Linked DNA regions of Homo sapiens: all the other regions are linked to region 1. The links are contacts of gene promoters, found by promoter capture Hi-C in blood cells and fetal thymus (Javierre and others, 2016). All regions are on one chromosome and are shown on one strand. The core of a region is centred on a gene start or on the middle of the fragment in contact, and the rest is flanking DNA. Distances in the headings are between cores, read along the strand shown.

What was found. The method cuts DNA at HindIII sites, captures the fragments that hold promoters and counts their contacts. A CHiCAGO score of 5 or more calls a contact.
Region 2: a fragment that was not itself captured here is called in contact with the fragment with the promoter of KRT4 in region 1 in 1 of 17 cell types (endothelial precursors); the score reaches 6.7 in endothelial precursors.
Region 3: the fragment with the promoter of KRT6B here is called in contact with the fragment with the promoter of KRT4 in region 1 in 13 of 17 cell types (endothelial precursors, total CD8 T cells, total CD4 T cells and 10 more); the score reaches 11.3 in endothelial precursors.
Region 4: a contact is called between the fragment with the promoter of KRT6A here and the fragment with the promoter of KRT4 in region 1, in 7 of 17 cell types (activated CD4 T cells, total CD4 T cells, naive CD8 T cells and 4 more). The highest score is 7.3, in activated CD4 T cells.

Annotation. Positions count from the first base shown.
Region 1 is chr12:52,812,643-52,815,480 of GRCh38, forward strand. It overlaps KRT4 (keratin 4), which reads right to left and starts at 1,474. Exons shown (of 9, transcript NM_002272.4): 1 at 955-1,474. The coding sequence starts at 1,416. RefSeq lists a silencer at 179-379 and an enhancer at 545-1,046. The HindIII fragment of the contact is 5,472 bases long and covers 1-2,838 here.
Region 2 is chr12:52,352,395-52,355,232 of GRCh38, forward strand. It overlaps the pseudogene KRT89P. Among named protein-coding and RNA genes, the nearest start is that of KRT85, 14 kb to the right of the region's middle. The HindIII fragment of the contact is 2,155 bases long and covers 361-2,515 here.
Region 3 is chr12:52,450,692-52,453,529 of GRCh38, forward strand. KRT6B (keratin 6B) reads right to left here and starts at 1,455. Exons shown (of 9, transcript NM_005555.4): 1 at 848-1,455. The coding sequence starts at 1,387. The HindIII fragment of the contact is 8,192 bases long and covers 1-2,438 here.
Region 4 is chr12:52,491,823-52,494,660 of GRCh38, forward strand. KRT6A (keratin 6A) reads right to left here and starts at 1,435. Exons shown (of 9, transcript NM_005554.4): 1 at 827-1,435. The coding sequence starts at 1,366. The HindIII fragment of the contact is 6,361 bases long and covers 1-2,838 here.

The sequences.
Region 1 (2,838 bases), core at 224-2,723:
ACATTTTGAACCCAAAAGGTAAAATGAGATGAGATGAGACAAGGATGCATCAAAGAGCCCTGAGTTTTTGCTATCACATCTGCATGTCCTATAGTCACAGTAAAACCTCTTTAAGTTACTATGGGTTTATTCAAACTAGCAAGAAGAACAAATATGCACCTTATTCTATTCCAAAAGTGTTCATTCTTGCCCCATATGTCGAAGCTGCCCAAGACTTTGATGCCTGGTGAACCAGGGCAACCTGGACCAAAGGGAGGCACTCATCCACCCAGTCATCAATCTTTGGATGACTCGGCTCTCTGGGGCTGCACTGCTCACTATCATCCATCATGCATGACCATAACTGAGCTTAAAGAACTTGAACTTCTAGACGTTGCATGAAAAAGGAAGTTGGGCTACAAAAAGAAAAGAGACCTGTCTCCTTTCTTCAAACAGACCCAGACATGAGCAGTGTTGTCCAGTCAAAGGAATGAAAAAAGTAAATTTCCAAGGCCTTGGTGAGACCTAGAATCTGCCACTGGAGCCAGTCCCTTTTTCATTTGCAAAATCAGCTTAGTTGTCTTCTGTTCTAAGAACAGAAGTGGCCACTGTTAAGTGATTAATGGGGTTAACTGCATTATATTCAAAACCAAAATCTGAGAAAAAGCAGAGAAATAATGAACCCCCTTTATAGCTGGGATGACTAGAGCCAGAAAAGCCAAATGATTTGTCCAGTATCCCACAGCCTGTCTAGGGAATTCCAAACACTTAACTGCCTTGAGCATCCCACCTTCCCACCAGCCACGGGACAAAAAGGAAGGCTCAAAGTCATGATGCCCCTTCAACAGCTGGAGAATTGGGGCCCAGGGAAGTTCAGTGGTCTCCCCAGCACCTGTGGCAGGCTCAGGTCTGAGACCCCAGGACTCAGGACCCCTCTCTTCTAACTGCCCCTCTCCAGCCGAGGACACAGCTCACCTTGTCGATGAAGGAGGCAAACTTGTTGTTGAGGAGCTTGATCTGTTCGCGCTCTTCCGTCCGGACTTTCTGGATCTCAGGGTCAATCTCCACGTGGAGGGGGGTGAGCAAGCTCTGGTTGATGGTGACCTCCTGAATTCCCCCAGCGGGGCAGACGGGGAAGCCAGGGCCACCCTTACCACTGAAGGAGCCCCCAAATCCACCACCAAAGCCACCAGTGCCAAAGCCTCCAGCACCCCCAAAGCAGGCACCTTGTCGTGACCCAGCCACACTCATGGAGATGCTTTTGTTCCCCCTGAGGTTGTAGAGGCTTCTGCTGCCAAATCCCCCAGAAGAGCATCGGCCAGCACCTCCAGACATGGAGACTGAGCTGAAGGCACCTCTCTTGCCACCGCCTACAATGGCCGAGCCACAGCTGAAGCCCCGGGGCCCGCCTCGGACACACTGCTGTCTGGCAATCATGGCTGCAGAGAGCGAGCTGGGAGCTATCAGAGAAGTGACAGGGCCCAGGCCGGTGAGTGCTGGAGCCCTCAGCCTTCGTCTCTTATATGTCCTGGAGCAGCAGGGCTTGGTTGCAGGGGCATAAAGGGAAAAATCTGAAACATCTCTGGGCTTGGCCCTTGGCACAAGCCCATCCTTCCCGCACCCGTTGAGCATGTCACTAAACACACCTACAGAAGTCATCTGGAGGGCACAGGTTACTGGATCCCATCACACTACTCTCTGGGAGAACCTGAACTGGTGCCCCAGGGCTTCCTAATCAGAAGCCCCTGCCTGGGCCCAGCGCTCCAGGCCCACACCCACTGTACCTCCATCTCGCTAGGCTCACAGCACCTCCCTCCTCCAGAAAAGACACCCCATCACCCATCCTCTCACCCCACAGAATGTGGAGTTAGACAGCCTGAGTTTGAGCGCACAGCCTGCCACCTCCTAGCTCTGCAAACCGGAGCAAGTCACCCTCTGAGGCCCAGTTGCTTTCCCTGTAAATTGGAAGTAATACAAATATTTGCCTTGCCACTTCTCAGGATAGAGTGAGCTAGTGATTAATGGAGTGCTCTGTAAACTGTCAAAAGCCACATGTATATTTGTCATTCTTAGCATTCTTATTCCTCCACATGTTCTTGGCTCCATGTACCTATAAAAAGGGGAAATATTCTGTATTCCAGCCTTAGCCTTCCAACCTAGATCCAGATTCACTTCAACTTGGCCAACAGCTACTGAGAAACTGCCAGGCATGGAGCTAGGTACTAAGGAGATGGGGGAAGACAAAACACCTCCCCAAAGAAAACCGTGACTGTCTTTCTCAGCCCTGGGTACCCATGCTGCCCCGCAGGCCTCCCTTCAATCTGTGCTTGCACAATTCTAGATGGGCGTTCTCCAGCGGGGTCTGGTGGTGTGCACTCTGCTGCTCCATTTGCTGTCCAGTTGTTTGCTAGGTGTGTTCTGGTTTTCTGTAATGGTGCAGAATTCAGGGCAGGAGTTCATAACTTTTTTGCTGCTGGGGATCCCTTTGGCAGAATGATGAAACCTATGGATCCCTTCTCAGAGCAATGTTTTTAAATGCAAAATCCTAGTTTTAAGCCATAACTTAAATTCTTCCCAACTGAACAGTAACAGATCTGTGTTCAAATCCCTCCTGTTGCCACTAACTAGCTGTATAACCTTGGGTGGGCCAACTAAGCACTCTAAACCCATCCAATATGGTTTGGCTCTGTGTCCCCACCCAAATCTCATCTTGAATTGTACTCCCATATTTCCCACACATTGTGGGAGGGCCCCGGTGGGAGATGATTGAATTATGGGGGCGGTTTCCCCCATACTGTTCTTGTGGTAGTGAATAAGTCTCACGAGATCTGATGTTTAATAAGGAAAAACCCATTTTGC
Region 2 (2,838 bases), core at 188-2,687, 460 kb before region 1:
GAATTGTTTATAATGTTGGTAGCAAACATATTGGATTTCCTTACTATGTGCCAGTCTCCATTTTAGGCACTTTCCATGTAGAACTCAATCGAACTTTACAATAATCCTTTCAGGCAGGTATTATCACCCCCATTTTATGCTGGAGAAATTGAGGCACAGAAAGGTTAAGCGACCTGCCCAAGATCACCCAGCTAGTAAGCCGCACAGCCAGATTTAAGTCCAGGCAGCCTGGCTTGAGAGTCCAGGCTCTTAACCACACCATACTCTTCAGCCTCCCTCTGCATTGAATGAAATCAGATAGATGTCTGGGGTACCATTTAAAATCATGGTATAAAAATGAATCTGTTTGAGTAATAGGCAAGCTTTTTCCTGCTCAGAGACGTCTAGCTAGGTAGCAGCAGCTTCCATCACCACTTTGGCTTTGCTGGCATTTCCAGCCAAGGGACCAGGAGGATGCCCCCCTCATCTCTACTTCCCAGTTCACCAAATTTCCATGGCTGAAAGCCAAACATGGCATAAAGTGGCATTTTGGATCCTGTAAGCTAACATACTCCTGTCCTTTTGGGATCCCAGCAAGCAGGACCAACACTGATGCTGTCTGCAGCAGGTGGGTAGCTTCCCCCTGCCTCTTAGGGCCCTTCTTCTCCTTCAGCATGGAGGAGAATAGGTTTGGTGCAAAAGCAGAGGAACTCAGCACTAACCGTACACTCTCTCCTCTCCCTGCAGGCTGTGTGAAGGCGTGGGCTCAGTCAATATCTGTAAGTTGGGTGTGTGTGGGCATGGCTTTCTGGGGTTTCAGCAATCTTAGTATTAGATTGCATCTAACTGATGACCAAGCCTCTGTCTATGGAGTGGTAGACAAGGGACTCCTGAGCTGATGTCTCTGGGATCCAGACAAACTGATGACCTCAAATATTTGACCATACATGGATCCATCTGGAACACCCATGAAGTCTAAGTTAATGAATGGTGCAAATTCTGAACCCCTATTTGGTTCTGCAAAAATAGCTTAAGCCTTTTAGTTACACACAGAATACTACTCAAGTGGTAGCATGTTCTAGTAAGAAAAAAAGCTAGGTTTATATTCTGATCATGTGGGTCTCTGCAGGCAACTTGTAAATCTCTATCTAATAATCCAATGTACACACAGCCCCTGGGCCAGGTGTCTGATTCCCATCCCTCCATTCCCCTCACCTCTCTAGCAACCATATTTCTAGATGACTCCTCTAGTGTGATCTATCAGTTTTTGCTCAAAGATTGTATGAACATGTCTCAACATCAGCCTGGTCCAAGTAGAGTTTGGTGTGCAATTTGCTAACCACACTCCTGAAGAAGCAGATGGCAGTGGGTTCAGGTTTGCCTGTAGTTTAAAAAGACTCATGTTGCTGGTCCCTCAGAGAAGGAAGATAATTAATCATTGGTTCTAAAGGATTCTGGGTCATAACATGTCTGAGATGGAAGAGAATTCTGACCTGTGTCTCTGTCCACATGTGTGAGCCATTCCCAGGGTGGTGTGGTCTGCGGGGACCTGGACTCCACTGCCTCCTGTGGCTCAGGGGGTGTGGCCATCAGCAGTGGTGCACTGTGTTGCCCCTCTGCAGTGGGGGCCTGCTCCAGTGCCCAATCTGTGCGGTTTGCATAGAGGGGGTGGGACTCTGGACGGACCTGTTCTGATGGGGGCAGTGTGGGTTGGGGAGTGGAAATCTTTTCTCTTGCATGACCAAATGTCAGTTTAGTAATTTCCCCTTACAGAGAACCCAGAACTAACTCTCCTGTTTCCTTCTTATTGGAGTTAACAATTTACTTTCTCTGTGTAAACCCTGGGTTTGACATTATTTTCACTTCCATTGCTTCTCCCCTTCCCTGTGGTTCAGGAATGAAATAGAAAGGCTTTTTTTTGAATGAATTTCTCGGTCATTGTCTTCCCCAATTAACTTCAGGCCAGCAGATGTTAAATTAAGTCCTGACTGTGTGCCAGATCCTCTTGGAACGGAGCCAGCTAGAGGGTGTGGAGTATGTGGGAACATCTCTGCGCTTTGCCCTCGGATGACAGGGGCTCCAGATGCTGCCTCAGCATGGAAGGGTGGTGTGGGTGTGGAGCTGGGCTCCTCACTTGCTCTGAGAGATTGTATATTCCCAGAGTCCCCCAACTATTCATATGTCCAGATTGAAAGACTGACGGAGGCTAATCAGCTGGGTTTATACTGTTTGTTGCCTGGAAGTTCATTGTATTTGCATGATTCCTGTATGGTTCCTTCTTTCTTTTGGTGTGCTTGATTAAATATCAATGGCGAAAGGCTTTTTCTTAGTAACCAAGTTAATGCCTGCCTCCTTCATTGTCTTCCCAACCCACCCAAAGCCCTGACTGTCTTGGTGCATCTCACAATGTGGTCCACCGACCACCACCTGCATCAGAATCCCTGTGGGGTAGTTGCTAAATGTGCAGATCCTGGGCTCCATCTGGAACTCTCAATCAAAAGTTCTAGGGATGAGCCCAGGAATCTGTATTTTAAGAAGCTTCCAGGTGATTCCTAGAAGAACTAAAGCTTGAGAACCACAGGTTGATGTGGGTAGAGGGAAGAGGAGGGTCGGATAATTCTGGCCATGGAAGTGACTGTCCCTCTGATTCTCACTGGATCGGTCTAGCCCCTTTGCATTTCTCCTTTGTCTGCGGCTAAAAGGTCAGAGCCATGGTCTGGGCCACACACACACCAGGGCAAGGTGGGGGCAAAGGTACAAAAGGGGTGAGGAAGGGAGCCTGTATTTGTTAAACACCTGCTAGGTGTCTGGCACATTATATATGTATTTCATTAATTTCTCACAGCAACCAGAATATTA
Region 3 (2,838 bases), core at 205-2,704, 360 kb before region 1:
GGAGGTCTGGGAGGTCCCCATGGTGCTGGGCTACTACAGTGCATGTAGAGAGGCTCAGGCTGAGCTCTGCTCCCCCAACTCCTTCTCCTTTGCACCCCACCAGTCTCACTAGAGAAATTGTCCCACGGACCACTGAGGTGTTCTCGCACTGTAAGCTATTGATCATCAGTGAGTTTCAACATTTCTTCTTTTCTTTTTCCAAGCACAATCACAAATCTAGTTTAAAAATACTAATTACCTGATATATTGTACACAGTTTTTTTTACCGAGAGGATCTTAGTTAGGAGGGATATTAGATGTTGACTCATGATTACATTTCAGTCTACTTTCCCATTTAGTGTCTCCTCTCAAATATTCTGATGTTATGGTCATTCTCTGTTTTTAAAATTAATTAGCATTTATCCATGTTTTACAGTTGTTTCTATGTCCCTTTTTTTCTTAATCCAGCCAGATTATCTTTTCCTTTTCTTTCTAAATCTTTTTCCTCTTACCCAGACCCCAGAGTGTAATTTACCAGCCCATATACTCCTGGCATTTGCTTTGTAATCTCTTAAACACTTCAGAGGGGAGAATTAACCTACTCCACTCTCTGATGGCCTCATCTGTGCTTCAGGGTTATGAAAAGTTATGGCTCTCCCTAGGCAGGAGTGAGGGCCACTCCAGATATCCCATGGGGGAGTGATGCCCATCTGTGCTGCCTCCTGTGCACCGAGAGCCACCTGCACTCTCTGCAGAGCTGGGCTGAGTCCCCTTCTCCCTCCCTCCTAGGGTCTCTCCGGCAGGAAGGTGTTGCTCTTCTGGTCTGGGGACCCTGAAGTGCCCGATGGAGGGCATGGCACTGGCTCACCTTGTCGATGAAGGAGGCAAACTTGTTGTTGAGGGTCTTGATCTGCTCACGCTCCTCGGCCCGCACCCGCTGGATGGCGGGGTCAATTTGCAGGTTGAGGGGAGTCAGGAGACTCTGGTTGACAGTGACCTCTTGGATGCCTCCAGGGGGGCACACAGGGAAGCCAGGGCCCCCAAAGCCACCAGCAAGGCCGGCTCCACCACCCAGACCAAAGCCAATGCCGGCTCCACCACCGAAACCAAATCCACTCCCGGCGCCACCAAAGCCATAGCTGCCTCCGGCTCTGCTGCCATAGCCGCCACTGATGGCACAGCTGCCCCCTCCAATGGAGATCCTCTTGGAGCCCCCCAGGCCATACAGACTGCGGCTGCCAAAGCCAGCTCCTCCACATGCGCCACCCAGGCCACCACTGCCCCTGGAGCGGGACACGGAGATGCTGCTGAAGCCAGAGCGGCTGACCCCAGGGAGCCTGGCTGAGTTGGCACTGAAACCCCGGCGGCTGCTGCTGTGGCTCCTGATGGTGGTGGATGTGCTGGCCATGGTTCCAGGAGATGAGAGGGCTTAGGAGAGTGTGAGAGGCTGGAGGCGAGAGGGAGGAGAAGCAGGACGAGGAATCGGACTCCAGTAGCAGCTTATATATGGAGAGCATGGGCTGGGCCCAGTCCTGGAAGGTGAGCTTGCAGGTTGGGAAGGGCTGGGCTTTACAAATAGTGAGATCACACCTGCATTATTACAAAAGTTATGAAATACCGAGATTGCATTTTTCGCTTCCTTTAGTCAGGCAAAATGTTCCTGCCTCCAGCTTTGACTTGAGATCTCAGCACAATAAGAGTATTCTCAATTCATGAAGTTGGAATTAGTCACTGTCTTCAGCAAAGGTTCTGCATGCTAGGCTGTTTATCGACATGCCCTGAGTGCCCTCCTCTTCCCAGTCTGACTTTCTTCCAGCCTTGCTGTTGGAGATCACAGGCACTGTATTGTGAATTCCTTAACAGAAATATTACAATTTCCCCATAATTGTTTCACCTTTTAGGTGCAATTTTAAACAGGTAGAGAAGCAGAACACTGCAATGGGCCTGTATATACCTGTCACCTGCTTCCATGATGATCATCTCATGGCCAGCCTGATTTCTTTCATACTTCAACCCTATTTCCTCTTCCATTCTAGATTGTTTGAAAGGAAATTCCAGAAGTCATATTATGTCTTCAATCAATAATTCAATATTAATATCTAAATAATAGGTCCTTTAAAAAATCAAAACACTATTTTTATATCTTAAAAATTTACATACTAATTAAAATGAACAAGTGTCTATTTAGTCTTCAAGCAGTCCTATTTTTGATATATATTTCTTATATTTTGGTGTCCCAATCAGAGTCAAAATAAGCTCTATAAACGTTGTATTTGAGTGATATATCCTTTAAATCATTGAAATTTAAAAATCTCCCTTCATTTCTTACTTTTATTTGTTAAATAAAACAGGTTAACTGTTCATTGTACTTTTTCATTCTTGGGATTTTTCTAATTGCATACCCCTATTGTTTCCTTTAATATGAGACTCTAACCTTCATATTTCATATTAAAATTAGAAGCTTATTAAGATTCTGTCTATATTTAAACATTCTAGAAGTAAATGTAGTAGATTGCCCATTTAAATTTTGAATAGTACTATTTGCACAATTATTTACATGTTTACAAATTGAATACATGATACATGTTTTAAAAAATTTTTTGTAAAACATGCTAAACAACAAAATAATATAGCTCAAGGCCATTCCCCAGTTACCCAATTCCTATCTATGGAGGAAGTAATGTTAGCAGTTCCTTGTGTATCCTTGTATCTTTACTTGGATATTTTCCTGTGCTTTTCCTGGGCCATGGGTGACATGTCTGTGCATATGTGTTTGTGTCAACGTGTGTTTGTATGGGTGAGGAAGAGGTGGAGGGAGTTGGCATATATAGAGAGGGAGCCTGCATTGTAGAAAGGTAT
Region 4 (2,838 bases), core at 185-2,684, 320 kb before region 1:
TTCCCATGGTGCTGGGCTACTACAGTGCATGTAGAGAGGCTCAGGCTGAGCTCTGCTCCCCCAACCCCTTCTCCTTTGTACCCCACCAATCTCACTAGAGGAATTGTCCCACGGACCATTCAGGTGTTCTCACTCTCTAAGTTATTGGACATATTAATGAGTTTCAACATGTCTTTTCCTTCTTTTCCCAGCCAAAATTACAAACATAGTTATAAAATAGTATTCATCTGATAAATTTTACACAGTTTTTATTACTGATAGGACCTCAGTTAGAAGAGATGTTAAATGTTGCCCAATGATTTGATTCCCGTCTTATTTCCCATTTGTGCAAGTCTCTCCTCTAAAACATCCTGATGTTATGGTCATTCTTTGTTTTGAGGATTAATTAACATTTCCACATAACGTATAAACGTTTTAAGTCTTTTTTTTCTTAATCTAGCCAAAATATCCTTTCTTTTGTTTCCAATATTTTTTCCTCTTATCCAGACCCCAGAGTGTAATTTACCAGCCCGTGTACTCCTGGCATTTTCTTTGACGCTTCAAAGGGAAGAGTTAACCTACTCCATTCTCTGATGGCCTCATCTGTGCTTCAGGGTTATGAAAAGTTATGGTTCTCCCTAGGCAGGAGTGAGGGCCACTCCAGAGATCCCATGGGGGAGTGATGCCCATCCCTGCTGCTTGCTGGGCACCAGCAGCCATCTGCACTCTCTGCAGAGCTGGGCTGAGTCCTCTTCTCCCTCCCTCCTAGGTCTCCCTGGCAGGAAGGTGTTGCTCCTCTGGTCTGGGGACCCTGAAGTGCCCCATGGAGGGCATGGCACTGGCTCACCTTGTCGATGAAGGAGGCAAACTTGTTGTTGAGGGTCTTGATCTGTTCACGCTCCTCAGCCCGCACCCGCTGGATGGTGGGATCGATTTGCAGGTTGAGGGGAGTCAGGAGACTCTGGTTGACGGTGACCTCTTGGATGCCTCCAGGGGGGCACACAGGGAAGCCAGGGCCCCCAAAGCCACCAGCAAGGCCGGCTCCACCACCCAGACCAAAGCCAATGCCGGCTCCACCACCGAAACCAAATCCACTCCCGGCGCCACCAAAGCCATAGCTGCCTCCGGCTCTGCTGCCATAGCCGCCACTGATGGCACAGCTGCCCCCTCCAATGGAGATCCTCTTGGAGCCCCCCAGGCCATACAGACTGCGGCTGCCAAAGCCAGCTCCTCCACATGCACCACCCAGGCCACCACTGCCCCTGGAGCGGGACACGGAGACGCTGCTGAAGCCAGAGCGGCTGACCCCAGGGAGCCTGGCTGAGTTGGCACTGAAACCCCGGCGGCTGCTGCTGTGGCTCCTGATGGTGGTGGATGTGCTGGCCATGGTTCCAGGAGATGAGAGAGCTGAGGAGAGTGTGAGAGGCTGGAGGAGAGAGGGAAGAGAAGCAGGACTAGGAATCAGGCTCGGGGCAGCAGCTTATATATGGAGAGCATGGGCTGGGCCCAGTCCTGGAAGGTGAGCTTGCAGGTTGGGAAGGGCTGGGCTTTACCAACAGTGAGATCACACCCAGTTTCTAGAAAGGTATGAAATATGAAGATTGCTTTTTGGCTTCCTTTAGTCATAGAGAAATTCTCCTGCCTTCCAGCCTTGACTTGATCCTAACACAATAAGCCCGGGTATACATTCACTGAAGTCATGAGTTAGTCATGTCCTCAAACAAAGGAGACAAGGAGCTGATCTGTGATAATTGTCCCCTCCTTCTTCTTCATCAGACACTCCCTGTGTGCCCCCTTCCCACACAGGTTTTCTACTCCACTTGCACCAGCCTCACCCTCTGAGTGGGATCCTTCCTGAGGGCGTATGGGCATTTGCCCGATGGCCTGAGCAAGAAGTAGCCTGTTGTGTTTTTTCCACTGCATTTGGACCAGTTCTTCTGGAGCTCCTGGCTGTCCTCCCTTGTGTCCTGGACATAGGAACGGGGTCTGCTTTGGGGATCTAACCCTCCTTTGTCAGGCAAGAGGGACAGAGGAGTTGAGTCTTTACACTGTAGGAGCAACATTTGTTCTGTGTACTGTGTGATCACCTGCCCACATGCCGTTTACCTAAAATGAAGGGAGCAGACATTGCCCAGGGTGCTCAGAGACCTGACTTCTGCCAGGAGTTTCTTTCCATATCTGCACCTCTCTCTCCAGTGCTTGCTTTCCTATTGAGCTTAGTCTCATGTAAATCTGCCTTTCCAGTTGAAATTTATAGACACCTTCTCCCTGCTGTTTTGGAGCATTTACATAGAGCTTAATTTAAACAACGGAAAATGAGTGATATAAAAATCATTAAGGAATTCACTGGATTTTTATTCCCACAGATTTTGACATTTCTTAAGAATCAAGAGTCAGACAGTTTAATTGGGTGTGTAGGGAAAGTCAAGGGGCATATGGAAGCTGTGAATCATAAAATTGTGCCCTTACAAGTGTGATGATGTAACATGTCAATTCCACATTTTAATTTCTGATCTCAGTGCTTGAAATCTCAAATCCATATACACCTTCTGGGAGGGTGGGCAGGCTGACAAAGGTGAGTGTGCTTGGTTTACAGAGGAATGAGCTTCACTTCTCCAGTCCATGCATTAAGCACTGTGCATGAGGAGAATGGAGAGCAATCCTGGGCAATATTGTTCTGTGAGAACCTATGGATAAATGAGCAACCGCAGGAGGAAGAACAAACTCCCATGCTAAGAAGAGCCTCAGGAAAGCTCTTGTTACTATTTTAAAAGCAGTCCCATTTCTCCAACATTTGGAGGGGGGGACACAGCATCCAGGAGAACAGGGTGTTCCCTGTCTAAAGGAGGTGCTAACTCA